Linked DNA regions of Homo sapiens: regions 2 and 3 are each linked to region 1. The links are contacts of gene promoters, found by promoter capture Hi-C in blood cells and fetal thymus (Javierre and others, 2016). All regions are on one chromosome and are shown on one strand. Each heading gives the region's core, a stretch centred on a gene start or on the middle of the fragment in contact. The rest is flanking DNA. Distances are from core to core; before and after follow the strand shown. Region 1 holds the start of ADAM15 (ADAM metallopeptidase domain 15). Region 2 overlaps ADAR (adenosine deaminase RNA specific). Region 3 overlaps ADAR (adenosine deaminase RNA specific).

The links. The method cuts DNA at HindIII sites, captures the fragments that hold promoters and counts their contacts. A CHiCAGO score of 5 or more calls a contact.
Region 2: a contact is called between a fragment that was not itself captured here and the fragment with the promoter of ADAM15 in region 1, in 3 of 17 cell types (naive B cells, erythroblasts and total B cells). The highest score is 7.5, in naive B cells.
Region 3: a fragment that was not itself captured here is called in contact with the fragment with the promoter of ADAM15 in region 1 in 1 of 17 cell types (naive B cells); the score reaches 5.6 in naive B cells.

What each region holds. Positions count from the first base shown.
Region 1 is chr1:155,049,551-155,052,657 of GRCh38, reverse strand. It overlaps ADAM15 (ADAM metallopeptidase domain 15), which reads right to left and starts at 1,342. Exons shown (of 23, transcript NM_207197.3): 1 at 1,193-1,342. The coding sequence starts at 1,271. It overlaps DCST1 (DC-STAMP domain containing 1), which reads right to left. Exons shown (of 17, transcript NM_152494.4): 17 at 1,728-2,041. The coding sequence ends at 1,790. All of the region lies in intron 1 of DCST1-AS1 (DCST1 antisense RNA 1), which reads left to right. ADAM15-EFNA4 (ADAM15-EFNA4 readthrough) reads right to left here and starts at 1,342. Exons shown (of 26, transcript NR_176418.1): 1 at 1,193-1,342. RefSeq lists a silencer at 1,178-1,637 and an enhancer at 2,108-2,167. The HindIII fragment of the contact is 11,546 bases long and covers 1-3,107 here.
Region 2 is chr1:154,602,590-154,605,975 of GRCh38, reverse strand. ADAR (adenosine deaminase RNA specific) reads left to right here. Exons shown (of 15, transcript NM_001111.5): 2 at 3,350-3,386. Among named protein-coding and RNA genes, the nearest start is that of ADAR, 3.9 kb to the left of the region's middle. The HindIII fragment of the contact is 265 bases long and covers 1,521-1,785 here.
Region 3 is chr1:154,586,619-154,589,408 of GRCh38, reverse strand. ADAR (adenosine deaminase RNA specific) reads left to right here. Exons shown (of 15, transcript NM_001111.5): 9 at 1-40; 10 at 736-858; 11 at 1,151-1,284. Among named protein-coding and RNA genes, the nearest start is that of ADAR, 20 kb to the left of the region's middle. RefSeq lists an enhancer at 1-709. The HindIII fragment of the contact is 3,100 bases long and covers 1-2,790 here.

The sequences.
Region 1 (3,107 bases), core at 93-2,592:
GACACCCCAAGACAGTACTGAGGGAATCGACAGCAGGGCTGGGGGTGACAGGTGCCCTCAGATCCACCAGCTCCCAGCCCATCAAGACCCTTAGGTACCTGAGGGGCTTCCACATTGCATGCTGAGACTTAAAGAAGAATACTGGAAGGAGAGGGTGTCTCTCTAATTTATGGCTTTCCACCCACCAACCCATTCACAAGTCCCCAAGAAAGACTTTCGGCTTGCGCAGCCTGTGGCCCTCCTTGTCCCCTTCCGGCCAATCCCAGGTTCTCACAGGACCCTCCCCGGTTCCCACTCCCTCCCAATCACTCTCCCCCCACTTCAGGAACGCCCCCTCTCGAGACTGAGCTAAGCCTTGTGGCCGGGTGCCCGCTCACCCTCCCCTTCGCTCACATCGGAGATGCCAGGAACGCCCATTTCTGGGTGAGCAGTGCAAACACCCCCACCTCCCTAAACACCCTCATGCCCAGTCAGGCACACCCGCTGCCTACAGCCTCTGCTTCCTCCTCGAGCACCCCCCACCCCCCCAACACACAATGGCCCTCTCTCCTCCGGACACTCCACCCGCGCCTGCCCTCTCGGTCCCGGCCCAAGACAGCAGCGGGAAGTGAAAGTTCCAAGGAGGAGTTGGTGTCCCAGCCTCTTTCCTGGCCAATTCTCCCTTCTCCTGGCTCATCTCGGGCCCCTCCCGCTCGGCCAGGCACTGGTGGCAACAGCACCAGGGTGAGGAGTGCCTGGCGGCCCCAGGCCTGGAATAGAGGCTAGAGAGAATCCTCTTCACTAAACCCTACAAGCCATGCCCGCTCAGCGCCCTGGCACCGGGTCGAACGGTTAGCTAGGCCCCAGAGCAGCGAAGATGCCAGTCCTGGGGAGCAGCGACCCTCTCATCACGATCTTGAAGTGGCGCTGGACAGGCCCCTCGGTACCTGGTACCTGAGCCTGAAAGTGTCCGCAGGGACCGCGCAGAGGATGACCAGGCAGGAGGCAGGGGGCGCCGGCATCCCCCCTCCTTCTCTTTTCACCCCATCGCCAAGTCACCGGGCCCTAGGCCCAGGACAGCGGACCAGGGCGGGCCGCGCTCTGGCTGGGCTCTCCCAGGGTCTCCGTCCGGCCCCATTACCCTAATGCCTTCCGACTTTCCTGCACCTCCCTCCCAGTCCGCCCCCCGACCCACTCCAGGCGGAGGACTCACCTATATTTGGGAGCGGCCAGGAAGGCAGAGGGCTGCCCGCGCCCAGGAGCCCCAGGGCCCAGAGCAGCGCCAGCCGCATGGCAGCGGCGCTCCGGGCCGGGCGAGGGCAGCAAGTGCGGAACAGCGCGCGGAGGAGCGGCCGGCGGCCAGGTCGCCTCGGAGAACCCAGCAGCGCCGCGCGGCCACCAGGCCCCGCCCCGGCCCGCCCCCTCCCACCCGGCCCCAAGCCAAGCTCCGCCCCCGGCAAAGCCCGCCCCGCTGCGCGCCGGGTGCCTCGGGAGCGGGGACACCGCCCACTACGCCCGCGCTGCTCAGCGCTACCGCTTCCCCGCAACTGTGCGGAGTGGGAGCCGGTGCCCGGTCCGACCGGCTTGGGCGGCGCGCCTTCACCCGGCGCCAGGTCCGGACCCCTCCCTAGTAGCTTCGCGGCCTCCCTGCCTCCTGTGCGCGGCCTGGCTCGGAGAGGTCGGGCGGGCAGGCTTTCCCGACTGCAGGCGAGGCAGTGCGCGGCTCACCCCAGTCCCCGACCCACGTGAAGCGTACAGGGCATTTTATTAACCGGGAAGGACGGTGCGGAAGAGCGAGCAGGACGCCTCTTCACCCCGCGTAGGCAGTGTCGTCGTTGCTGTCACTAAAGGCGGAGGAAGAGAGCTCTTCGCGGGGCGTGCAGACCGGGCACCGCTGCCGCATGTCGTCCCAGCACGACCAGCAGTACACGGCCTCGCAGTCCAGCGTCCGGCACACGTAGGACTCGGGCGTCTCGGGTGCCTGGCACACCACGCAGCGCCGGCACAGCCAGCGGCGCAGGAGCGGGCAGCCGCGGTGCAGGATATCCGCCAGCGGGTGGCGCTGTTGGGAGGTGGGCGTTAGCGCCAGCCCGGGAGCGAGGCGGGAAAGAAGGGGAACTGGACAGCGTTTCCTGTCTGAAGTCGCCAGGCCTGACAATTCCCGCGTGTTGGAGGAGGCTGGGTTGGACAAAGGAAACCCCTGGAGGGCGAGGGTGCCTCCCTCCCCAACTCTGTGATGGAGAATGGGAGGATGCACCCTCCAGGCTCTCTCCAAGCGGATATCAGCCACAACTCTCATTTGCACTTTCCTGTAAATCATCTTATTTGGTTCTCACAGTGAGGCTGAGAAGTGAGCAGGCCAGATCGACTATCACTGTTGCTATCCCCACTTTACAGTTGAGAAAGGTGAAGTGACTCTCAAAGTCACACAGATAGTAAACAATCCAACTTGGCTGGACCCCAGGGGCCCTGATTCCAAACCACAAACCTAGTTCACTATGCTCCCTGCCATCCCTCACGACATGTCTCTACACAGTTGTCAGGGATTTTCCACAGGCCACCTTACCCAGGAAGCAGCCACTCTTTGCCCAAGAAACTCCAGAGGCCCTGCTGCCTGCCAGACAGGCAGAACTCTTGGGCTTGGCCTTCAGAGCCTTCCCTCACCTGGTCCCTTTCTAGCCTCTTTCCTACTTTAGCCCTCCCTGAGAGCTGTCTCTTCTGAGCCAGTTTCTCCTGAGACTAGCCCTGGCACTTCGCATTCCCTGTGGACTGAGTCTTTGCACATTCTGCTTGGAATGACTGTCTGGCACATTTCCATCTGTGCATTCACATTCAGTTTGCTTCACGACCCTGTCAAGGAATCCCAGCATGTTCTTTTTTGTTTTTTGTTTTTCATTTTTTCACAACACATTCATTTGGCCCCTATTGTGTGTCATGGGGGCTGGGGGTATCCAGGCCCTAGGGAAAAAGCTAAGCAAACACAGTCTCACTTTTATGAACTTTGTTAGGACTGATTAAATAAGAATGGCTGCCACTCATTGTTTATAATGTCAGGTCCTGTACTAAGATACTGTACATAAATTATTTCAATTCTAAATTAGCCGGGCGTGGTAGTGTGTGCCTGTAAT
Region 2 (3,386 bases), core at 404-2,903, 450 kb after region 1:
TCATAATTTAATTCTTCTATAGACAGACATTAAAATATTTTCCAGATTTGGGCCAAGAGTAGCAGTTTAAAAAACATTTAGCTTTTAACTGACTCTAGCCACTTTGAAACACAATTTTTTTTTCCCAAGGTCACTCAAAGAGCTAATAGGAGAACCCCTAAGTCCCATAATTCAGCTCTGGGAGCCAGCACTCACTCTGTACACACATTTGCCTCTGTCCCTAGCAATATGGTGGGCGTGAGGGTGCAGCAAGAGGAACAAGAAAGAAATGATTGCTTGCATAGTGGCGTCTTGTTCATGCAGTCATTAATTCAACAAATGTTTGTTGAGAATCAGCTTTGTGCCAAGTGCTAGAGAGGTTGAGATGATTGAAGCATAGTCCTTGACCCCCAAGAGCTCACCATGGAATCAACTGAAGCCCCTCATCAGTACTGTGTTGGGAATATTGAGAGTGGAGAGTTGAGTATAACTTATAGGACACCTAATGTTAATTACCTTTCAGACACTGCAATGTGTGTGTGCCATAAAAAAAAAAAAAATCCAGTAGCTCTGATACGAGGGAAAGTAAATGGTTTAACAGGTGCTGAGTAGGAGAAGCTCAAGGAGAGGAAACCCCAAGGGCTGAAGAAGGTGGGAGTCAGGAGTCTCCTGAAGCAAGTGGCATTTAAGGAGCTCTATAAGGAAAGGGTCAGAGTTGTGATAGGTGGCTGTGGAGGGAGATGTGCCACCTGGATTGGCATGTAGAGGGATAGAAAGATTATAGGCCTTTGCAATGGCCCAGTAAGAGGTAATGAGGGGCTGGAACTGGAAGAAAACACATTTAAGACACAGTACAGAGGTGGCAGACAAGGTGGGACTTGGCAACTACCTGATGAGATCCAGGAGATGAGGCCAGGAGGCGGGCAGCAAAGATGACGCAGGTTTCTAGCCTTAATAGGCTAGGAGGAGAGTGATGCCATTAGCAATAAGAACTACAGGAGAAGGAGCTGAGTTTGAGGGAACTATTAATTTGGTTCAGAATATGTGCTGTTTGAGTTATGGCAGGATATTTAAGTGGACAGACTGTCGACATAGTTGGAAATTCAGATCTTAAGCTCCCACACAAGGTAGTGGCTGGACATAGTAGATTTGAGTGCTCTTGCTTCAGAGGGCTAGTTTAGGTTGGGGCAGTGATTAAAGCAACCTAGGAAATAAATTATAAAGGAAGAAGAGGTCCTTAAAACCTTGGAGACTGATTATATAAAGGGTGGATCCGTTAATACAGTAGCTATTAAAAAATTATAAGGGGTGGGAAAAAGGGACAAAGAAGAAAAAAGAGGTGAAAGACCTTTGCTGTGTCACCAAACCCTGGGAGGAGAATTTTTTAAAAGAAGAGTACTCAATCCACAGTGAACTAAGGCATGTTTGTTAAACACAATTGACCACCACACAGCGAAGACCCAAATGAGGTTCAAGAGAAGGAATTTTTATGGACCCTGTTAGCACAAGTCAAGGTCCTTCTCCAGTACCACTGGGAAGCTTTGGAGAAGAAAAGGGGGACAGTGGGCCTTGGGTGGAGAAGGGAACTGACCATGAGATCCAGGTGGGGTGAGGAGGTGTGTGAAGTCAGAGTGGGGAAGAATCAGGGTGGCTTACTGGCAGCTTCACCGGGGTCATGCGAGGAGCAGGTTCCACCAGAGTAAGGAGTGAAGTTGTAGAAACACAGGGAAGTCACCATCAGAAAAGAGCAGGAGTCAAGAAACTATGGCCCACAGGTACAAACTACCTGTTTTTATAAATAAAGCTTCATGGTAAATGAATTGTAAATAAAGTTTTGCATATTGTGTGAGGCTGTTTTTGTGCTACAGTGGCAGAGCTGTCTGGCCCTTTATAGAAAAAGTTTATCAGCCACTGGAAAAGAGTTGCAGGATTTGAGGTCTTGGTGTGATGGCCTAGGTTAGAGTCATAGTGAGATTGAAGGAGTAGCTAGACAAGCCAATTGTGTGGCAGAAAGGTAGGGATGGAGATCACTGGGTTAAGGATCCTTGTAGCCAGGACACCATGAGAGTGATTGACAAGAATGCTGAAATCCCCTAAGTGTGTCAGGATGTGGAAGAGTAGAAGGCTAGAGTTATGGAAGAAAGGGTCCCACCTCTACCTGTGCAGCCTCCAGGAGAGTCTGAGGAGGGGGCGGTGAGTGTGAGTAAATGTTGTCAGAATCCCTCCTCCCAGTCTACAAGCCCCAGGGAAAGGAAGCAAGGTGTTTACTGACACCCCCAGGCTTATAAGTACTTCCTGGCTCCATCACCCTCCAGTGAACAGCCCTGGGGAGAAGACAGTACTGGTTTGCAGGTGGGTGGGTGGGGAAAGGGGTCACAGGTGCTTGGTGTTCTGGTAAATGTGCATATGAGAACATGGGGTTGCTTGTGCCCTGTCCGTCAGGGTTCAGAAGAACGTGCAGTGGAAGCAGCTATGGGGAAGTAGCTAGGGAAGGTAGGACTGGTCTGAGGTGGTGAGGAGCAGATGCTGCCAGCTCCACACATCCAGGAGAGCCTGGGTGGTTTGGGCAAAAGTCTCTGGCATCCCTTCTGAGCCTGGGTACCACACTGAAGAGTGAGGACAGTGTGCCATTTTTATCAGGAAACCCTCCAGCTCCCTGAAGACCAAATTCTGATCCTCCTGGGATGGCAGTGAAGAGCCACAGAGATGACTCTGAGGTCCCGTGGCCTTTTCCCACCTGGAGATTGTTTTCGTTACTGCGCTGTTACAGCCTTGGAGGACTGGGGTTCAGTTTCATCCAATCACATTTCTTCTTTTGTCATAGTCATCTAAACGATAGATCTTAGAGACAGGTGGGCAAGGGGTGCACTGGTGAGCCTGACTTAAGGAGAGGTCATCTCGTCCCTTCCCTAGTCCCATCTCCCTTGGTTATTGTTATTTCATGTGATTGTTCTGGTTATTTCAGGTTATTCTGTTTTTGTTTTCAAAACAATAACATATATTTGTTGTTCTGATTTTAAAGGGGTAATTGTTTTGGTAACTAGAAAATTACCTTCTCAACTCCCTTAAATTCTGTCAAAGGGAAAAGTAAGTTAGGTTGCTGGAGAGGCTATGCTGAGGCCTCAGAACCTCTGTATTCCTGGAAGTTCTGCGTGCTTTGCCTCCTGCTCCCCTCTCTGTGTTCCTGTTGGCAGGCCCCTAGGCAGGATTTAGGAGGTAGGCAAGTCACCCTAGCCAAGTCATAAGCCCATGGCTCAATTGCCTTCTCAGCCCTTCAAGGGCTGTTCCACAGGCAGCAAAGGGAGGGGCCTCCACAGGTTCACCACTGCAGCCCTAATTCATTTTCTTTTTCCACTGTCTTATTCTGCAGGGGTATTCCCTCAGCGGATACTACACCCATCCATTTC
Region 3 (2,790 bases), core at 169-2,668, 460 kb after region 1:
ACTGCCATGCAGAAATAATCTCCCGGAGAGGCTTCATCAGGTGAGCGAGGTCAGAGCTGTGGCCCGGCTGCCCGGCTGTGGAGAGCTCCAGTTCCCTGCCCCACATGGCTCTGACACGGCCTCTGAATCCCCCTCAGACAGACGGGTCATGATGTGGCAGTGGCAGCCTTTGCTTTTCACCCGTCCATTTGAACCTGTCTGATGGAATCCATCCCCTCTGTGAGCTGAGCTGCCTCCCACTGCTCGGCCTGTTTTTAAATGCTGTCCTTTTTTCTGCTAACTCTGCTGCTTCATGTTCTTTTCTAAAAACACAAAATGACCTTTTAGTCCTCAGGGCCTTGAGGATGAGGCAGCTTTCCATTTCCGTTTGAGGACCTACACAACCTTGATGCCCCTGCCAGCTTTCTCCTCTAGCTCACCTTTTCTTTAATTTATGAAGGGAGAGACTTAGAAAGGAGCAACAGCTTCCTGTAGTCCTTGAATCAGTTTGCTCTGCTCTAGAATCCCTGTAGCCGCCATAGCGAGGAGCCCTCAGCAGAAATGAAGGAGACCCAAAAGGCTAACTATGCTTTATGAAATGCTGAGGTCTCCCCTGGAGAATTTCCACCTGATAAACTGTGAAACGTCTGCAACATTGAGACTTTTCCTTACTTTCTCATTTGGAGGTCAGATTATAGAAACAACTGCTTTTCCCAGAATTGAACCTGCCTTCCTAACCAGACTTTCTTTTTGTAGGTTTCTCTACAGTGAGTTAATGAAATACAACTCCCAGACTGCGAAGGATAGTATATTTGAACCTGCTAAGGGAGGAGAAAAGCTCCAAATAAAAAAGACTGTGTCATTCCATCTGTATATCAGGTCTGTACAGTTCCTGTTGCTGCCAGGGTGGGCCCTGCCAGGCTGTTAGAATTGGGTATCCAAATGCTCTCCTGGCCTGTAAATCGAACCTGATACAATAAGCCACACTCCACTGTGGGTTTGAGGTCCATATTCAGGTGTAGATGACTCACATGTACTGCTGTCCACCTCCAGTCTCCCATGGTAGGCCTTAGAAAACATCCCTTGCTTCTGTCACATCTGACTGTTTTGGAGCCCCACGAAATTGCAGATTTCCCACAGGTGAGTTTTAACAGCCACCCCTGTTTTTCAGCACTGCTCCGTGTGGAGATGGCGCCCTCTTTGACAAGTCCTGCAGCGACCGTGCTATGGAAAGCACAGAATCCCGCCACTACCCTGTCTTCGAGAATCCCAAACAAGGAAAGCTCCGCACCAAGGTGGAGAACGGTGAGTGATACATGCCCCCGCCTCCTTTCCTCAAAAGGCTCTGCAAGGTCCAGGGACCCCAAGTCTCTACAAGGCTGCTAGGATTTTACCATTAGTCACTGGGCACAGAGGTGCTGTTTACAGGAAAGGGAAGACCTGGGTCAGGGAGCTGTGTGGTAAGATCAGGGTTCTATTTTGAATGTGTTAGTTTGGGAGATCTGGGAGATCCCCAAGTCAAATAGGAGGTGGGGGTTCCCATGTGGAGCTCAGAGGAGGGAGCTTGGCTGGAAATAGAAATATGGGAGTCATCCCCCTATAGGGTCTTCATGGCCATGAGAATGCATAGGATTACCTCAAGAAAGCGGGGAGGAAATGAAGAGTGCGGCACAACCAAGCCCTGAGGAGTTGACAGATGAGGATGCCAAATGCTGGGGTCCCCTCCTGTCTAGCTGGCAGTTGACTCTGCCTTGTCCACTGGCTCCTTCTCTCCTATCCTCTCCTGTCTCCTTACTGTCTCTTCGCATCCACTCCATTGCGTTCAGGCCACGTCAGCAGTCATCATGGTGGTCCTGAAACCTTGCTAAATACCCTAAAGTATAGACACAGTTACCATGGAGCCGGTGCTCCACTCCTAGGTATATGCTGCAGAGAGATGGAGATCTGTGTCCACACGGAAACTAATATGTGAATGTTCATGGCAGCATTACTCACAAGAGCCAAAAAAGTGGAAACAACCCAGACGTCCATCAGCTGATGGATTCATAAATAAAACATCAAATATATCCATAAATTGAATATTATTTTGGCCATAAAAAGAAGTGAAGTGCTGATACATGCTTACAATATGGATGCACTTGAAAACTTGATGCCAAATGAAAAAAGCCAGTCACAAAAGATCACATATTGTATGATTCCATTTATATGAAATGTCCAGAATAGACAAATCCATAGAGACAGAAAGTAGATGAGTGGTTGCCAGGGCCAGGAGTGGGAGAGTTGGAGAGATGAGGAGTGACTGCGCCAATGGGTAGAAGGTTTCTTTTTGGAGCGATGAAATGTTCTAAAATTGACTGTGGTGACAGTTGCAGAACTCTGTGAATATACTAAAAATGACTGAATTGTATGCTTTAAATGGGTGAACTGTATGGCATATGAACTATATCTCAGTAAAGCATTTTTTTTTGTTTTTTTTTAAACCCGATAGTGGTTTCCCACTGCACTGCATATACAAGCAAAACCTGCTGTGATCACCCGGCCTCCTCTCATGCCACTTTCCCCATCCCTCGCATATGCTCTGTCCACACTGGCTCTCTGTCAGGCGCCTGAACAGCCAATCCGCTGGCTGCCTTGGGGCCTTTGCTTTTGTCCTGTGTGCCTGAAACACTTACTCCAGCTGTCCTCCTCCATGTCTGGGCTCCCCTGCTGCTGCTGTCCCAGGAGGTGTCCCCTGTGGTCCTCCGTCATAGCTGCCTCAGAGCCTTCAGAGCACTGTCAGCATCTGGAATTCTTCCGTATGTACTGGCTACT